2 separate regions of the Homo sapiens genome follow, and region 1 is linked to region 2. Evidence: promoter capture Hi-C in human tissues and cell types (Jung and others, 2019). All regions are on one chromosome and are shown on one strand. The core of a region is centred on a gene start or on the middle of the fragment in contact, and the rest is flanking DNA. Distances in the headings are between cores, read along the strand shown.

What was found. The method cuts DNA at HindIII sites, captures the fragments that hold promoters and counts their contacts. A contact is called where the count stands out against the background at its distance.
Region 1: a fragment that was not itself captured here is called in contact with the fragment with the promoter of CYB5R3 in region 2 in 1 of the 25 tissues and cell types used here (IMR-90 fibroblasts).

What each region holds. Positions count from the first base shown.
Region 1 is chr22:42,891,590-42,894,317 of GRCh38, reverse strand. PACSIN2 (protein kinase C and casein kinase substrate in neurons 2) reads left to right here. Exons shown (of 11, transcript NM_001184970.3): 3 at 705-861. Among named protein-coding and RNA genes, the nearest start is that of ARFGAP3, 36 kb to the right of the region's middle. RefSeq lists an enhancer at 1,196-1,295. The HindIII fragment of the contact is 5,092 bases long and covers 1-2,728 here.
Region 2 is chr22:42,648,113-42,650,812 of GRCh38, reverse strand. It overlaps CYB5R3 (cytochrome b5 reductase 3), which reads left to right and starts at 1,421. Exons shown (of 9, transcript NM_000398.7): 1 at 1,421-1,518. The coding sequence starts at 1,498. RefSeq lists silencers at 941-1,040, 1,351-1,540, 1,561-1,910 and an enhancer at 433-1,246. The HindIII fragment of the contact is 6,582 bases long and covers 204-2,700 here.

The DNA.
Region 1 (2,728 bases), core at 8-2,507, 240 kb before region 2:
AGTGAGCCGAGATCGTGCCACTGCACTCCAGCCTGACGACAGCGAGACTGTGTCTCAAAAAAAAAAACAATTGCCTTCAGCTCCAGCCTAGCCACTGTGGCTGCAGGATCTTGACAAACCACGTAACTTCTCTAAGCCTTTGTTTCCTCATCTGTAAAATGGGGACACTTATTCCTACTAGGTAGGGGAGACAGTATTTGGAGGTGTAAAACACCTAGCAGGTCGCCTGGCACATGGTAGGTGCTCAGGAAGTGGAAAAGTTTTTACAGCTATGATTGGGAAGTAATAACCCAGCACATGATGGATGACATCAAAGCAGAAGGCTTTGGTTAGATGTCACCTACTCCAGGAAGCCAGCCCCAGCCCCTCAGTCTGCGTGAGGTGCCCGTTTAGGCATCCTCAGCCCCACCCCTTCCTGAGCCAGTCAGCCTCCCTTCCTGACCCACAGCCCAGTTTCTACTTGGTACCCAACCTAAAGAACATTGAGAAGCCCCCGTTCACTGATGTGTATGATCTTATTAATAATAAAAATAGAGAGGCTCATTATCTAACTACACGGAGTGCCTTTCAAACTCTTGGAGAGGGGTGTGGTAAACATGACCCCAGGGGCGCATCAGGGCCTGGTTGGCATGGAGGCCATTTGTGCCACAGCCAAGGACAGGCTGCCCCAAGCCCCCTGCCTCCCAGCTGGTTCTCTCTCCTAGGTCGGGAACTACAAGCGGACTGTGAAGCGGATCGACGATGGCCACCGCCTGTGCAGCGACCTCATGAACTGCCTGCATGAGCGGGCGCGCATCGAGAAGGCGTATGCGCAGCAGCTCACTGAGTGGGCCCGGCGCTGGAGGCAGCTCGTGGAGAAAGGTATGGGGCCCCGGCACAGGTCCTGTGGCCTGGAGGCAGCTACACCCCAGCCGGGGGCTCTGGGCACGTTGTGACCCTCTCTATGCCAGTTTTCTGTCTTTTAAGATTGGGGCAAGAGTGCATTTCCCAGTTCCAGAGCGGGGTGTGATTTTTATGGGGAGCATTAGCGCCCATCACCAGAAGGCACAGGCTCCATGAGCTTTTGTCCACTTTCCTTGGGGACACAGGACTATAGCCCTTGTCATCCATAGGACACACTTGCACTTGCCGAGTTAACTCAGAACTCGGGTAAGTTCCTATCACGTGGAAGGCCTTGCCGCTTGGCACCTTAGTTTCTAACACTGAGAGCTGTTTATTTTTAAACTTGGCCATGTAGCAGGTCAGATAAGACTAGCTGGCAACACCTGGCAGTCTTTCTGAGTTTACATTTTAAGGGAATAATTACAGGTGTTGTATGGCAGAGGTTTCACCCCCTTCTGTCCCCACCGAAAAGCTCAGAAGATTCTGTAGCTTTATTAGTGCCACTGTTGTGTGGACAGGGGCCATGCTTAGAACACACTTCCCAGCAGGGAAGGGGAACTTGACTGATTACAGCCTTTCCGGCACAGAAGCAGAGCAGTGTGGGTTTCTCAAGGTGTGTTTTGGGGCAGGCTTTCCTGTGCTGACCAGCTGTCCTCAGCCCCAGCTGTCCTCAGCCAATCAGGGGAGCCAGGTCCCAAGCAAGCCAGGTCTAGTCCAGCTGCCTGTCCTTTCCCGTGATGCTGACATGGGTTGTTTGTGTGGGCTTAGCACAGTCCTTAGGGCAGGGTATGTGCCCAGGCTGTGGAGCAGGCACGTGGCAGAGGAGGGGCCTAGGATAGGTCAGCTCCCTTGGTCGGTGGCAGTGTCGTCATTTCGTTTCCACCTGCTGCAGCCCCTCTCCCAGGATCAAGCTGTCAGTCAGAGCTTGAGGTTTACAGAGCACCCTTACCACCCTCACCTTGTGGGTCTGGCTGTAACGTTGTGGACAGGACAGGAATGTGCTCATTTTGTAGACACGAAGGCACAGAGAGGTCCAACTTCCGGGGCTGTTCTCTGTTGTCTCCAAGCCCCAGAGTCACGTGTCCCCCTCTGGGTTCTCACAGCCTGCCCTCCCCTCAGCCCACCTCTGTCATGACTCAGCGCACTTGGTCACTGTCCCTGTGACCACCTTGAAGACCAGCCATGGATCTTCTCGATTTCTGCCCCGGCTCCGTTGTGGCTCTCCCTCCCTCCAGCCTCACGCCACCCCACCCTACCCCCTGAATAGAAATGCCAGCCTGGATTAGGGCTTCCTTCCTGAGCCTCGGGGACTGAGAACAGTGAGTAGGGAGAGGCGACTCAGCCCCTCCTGCCATACTGGTCCAGAGCAGGCTCCTGCTTCCTCCTCTCCTTCCTCCTGCAGGATGGGCTTCCATTCTGCTGAGGGGACAGTCCTCATTCCACAGTGTTCTCAAGCTTGTGCTCAGAGCCAGGCTCTTTCTGGGAGTGAATGAACACAGTCCTGCAGAGGAAGGCAGTGCAGGGCTAGCCAGGGGCCAAGCAGGGCTGATAGGAGCCATGCCAGGAGAAGCGTTGGCATGGTGTGGGTGGGTGCCCAACACCTGGGAGAAGCATCTGCTCACTTCAGAAGGTCCCCCCTTCTCTGGCCACCTTTAAGTAAATTAAGACTTCTAAGATGTGGAAATTTGAGTTTTTATAGAGTTCAGTGGCTTTAAATAAAGGAAAGGCATGGCCGGGCGCGGTGGCTCACGCCTGTAATCCCTGCACTTTGGGAGGCCGAGGCGAATGGATCACCTGAGGTCAGGAGTTCGAGATCAGCCAGCCTGGCCAACATGGTGAAACCCCG
Region 2 (2,700 bases), core at 172-2,671:
AATGGCCGGGCGCGGTAGTTCCCACCTGTAATCCCGGCACTTTGGGAAGCCGAGGCAGGTGGATCACCTGAGGTCGGAAGTTCGAGACCAGCCTCACCAACATGTTGAAACACCGTCTCTACTAAAAATACAAAATTAGGCCGGGCGCGGTGGCTCACGCCTGTAATCCCAGCACTTTGGGAGGCCGAGGCGGGCGGATCACGAGGTCAGGAGATCGAGACCATCCTCGCTAACACGGTGAAACCCCGTCCCTACTGAAAATACAAAAAATTAGCCGGGCGCGGTGGGGTGCCTGTAGTGCCAGCTACTCGGGAGGCTGAGAATGGCGTGAACCCTGGAGGCGGAGCTTGCATTGAGCCGAAATGGCGCCACTGCATTCCAGCCTGGGGGACAGGGCGAGACTCTGTCTCAAAAAAAAAAAAAAAAAAAAAAAAAAAAAGATTAGCTGGTTAGCCAGATGTGGTGGCACATGCCTGTAATTTCGGGAGGCTGAGGCAGGAGGATCTGTTGAACCCTGGAGGCGGAGTTTGCGGTGAGCCGAGATCGCGTCAATGCATACCAGCCTGGGCAACAAGAGCGAAACTGCGTCTCAAAAAAAAAAACAATTAGCCGGACGTGGTGGCATGTGCCCAGCTACTCAGGAGGTTGAGGCAGGAGGAACACTTGAGCCTGGGAGGTTGAGGCTAAAGTGAGCTGTGATCAGGCTCCTGCATTCCAGTCTGGGCAAGAGTGAGACCCTGCTTTACCAAAAAAAAAAAAAAAAAAAAAGGTATTTATTGAGCACCTACTATATGCTAGGCTCTGTGTGGCTAGGCTCTGGGGATGTACGGGACTTCAAACCAGATAGGGCCTTGCCCTCCGGGAGCGCACAGTCCACTGGGATGGGGTGGGAGTGGGGGAAACACGCAGGAGGCCTTCAGCTAAGTGGGACAAAGATCACTCCACAGTGGGACAATGGCGTGGGGAGCGGAGGCGCCGCCGGCGAGGAGGCTCCGGGCGGGCCGTGCTGAGACCGCAGCATTTAACCCGGCCCGAGGCAGCTGGGAACAGTGCTGCCCAGGGAACTACAAATTCAAAGGCCCGGGGAAGGGCCGCGCTGAGCAGCTGCAGGCACAGGCCCAGGCCAGGCCAGGCAGGACCGGCCCCTGCAGTCTCGGAGGCCGGGGGAAGATTCCGCCTCTTATTCTCGCTCCCATCCGGGGGGCGCCATCTTGCTTCCTTTATGGCGGCGAACGAGGCCCAGAGAGGCCACCGTCCCGCGCGGGGCAGCACAGCGGCGGGAGAGCTCGGAGCGCAGAGGGCCGCATCCCCAGTTCCCAGTCTCCATCCCCGGCAGAAGCAGGCGGAGCGACCCGGTCCCCGCCCCCGCGCCCGCCCCGCCCCGCGCGCCCGCCTGGCCCCTCGGCCCCGCCCCTGCTCCGGAGTGACGCGGGCCCGGGCGCGACGGTCTCGGCGGCGGCGGCGGCGGCGACAGAGCGAGCGCGGCGCGGGGCCACCATGGGGGCCCAGCTCAGCACGGTAGGCGGGGAGGGGGCGCCGGGGCCGCGGGGCGTCGCGAGGGACTGGGACCCGGCGGCGAGGGGGCGGGCTGGCCTGCGGGAGGTGACGCGGGACCCGGGCCGCACCCGGCCGCACCCACTTCGCCCGCCCAGCCCGCCGCGCCCCACCCCACCCCACAAGGGCCTGGGCGAGCTACGTGGTGACCGCTACTTACGCCCTGGCAGTCTGCAGCGGGGACCCAGCCCTCCTGCCCGGGGGGCGCGCCAGAGCCCAGCACCCGGGGGCACCTGGGCCCTGCCCTGGCCGCCGTGGGGCCTTGGCTGCTGGAGGGACCCGTGGTTGTGAGCGTGTGTGCCGCTGAGTGTGAGTGTGTGAGCGAGCGTGTGAATGGCTTGAGAGTGAATGTGTGTGTGAGTGTGACCGTGGGTGTGAAGGGCGGGCATGGAAACGTGTGATGGGGTGTGTGTGTGTGTACGGGAGTATGTGAATGGGCGATGTCACTGACTGCGACTGAACGTGTGTGTGTGTGCGATGTCACTATGTCAGAGGGTTTTGCACGTTTAGCAACAAGGAACAGAACCCGGATGACACGGGGGCATCCTCCCAATGCTCAGTGGGCCAGGCTCCCATCAAGGCCAGGCTCCCACTGACCCTGCAAGCTGTGCTGGGGACCTCACACTTTGCGGTGTCAGTGCTGTTTGCCCCATTTCACAGATGGGGAAATGCAAACTAGTCTTGGCCACCGTCCCACAACGCTGCCGCCGGAAGGAGCCTGCTCCATGGGGTTTCAAAGTCCACTCTGCTGCTGTCACTCCTGGGCTGGCCTAGAGCCACCTTCCCTTCCCCCCAGGCCACCTCCTCTCCCCAGTTTCTCAAAAGTTGACCATGGTGAGGCTGGAGGCTTGAGTCTGTGTGGACATGTGGAGGCTGCGGCTGCAGAGGGCAGCTCTCCTGTCAACTGTGACCCGCTAGGCGTGGGGAGGCTGGCACAGGAGGAATCAGCCCAGTGCTCCTCCACCTCCACCTCTACCTCTATGCCTGGCATCTGCCACTTGGAGGGCACCTGGGTCCTCCCTCCTTGGGGAGGACCTGGAGTCTCCTCCTTGGGGATCCAGGCAAAAGGCCTCTTGGCTTGGGTGGTTGCTAAGGAAAGTGTGGCCCAACCCAGAACTTCGGGATGTTCAGACCCCAGGCAACCTT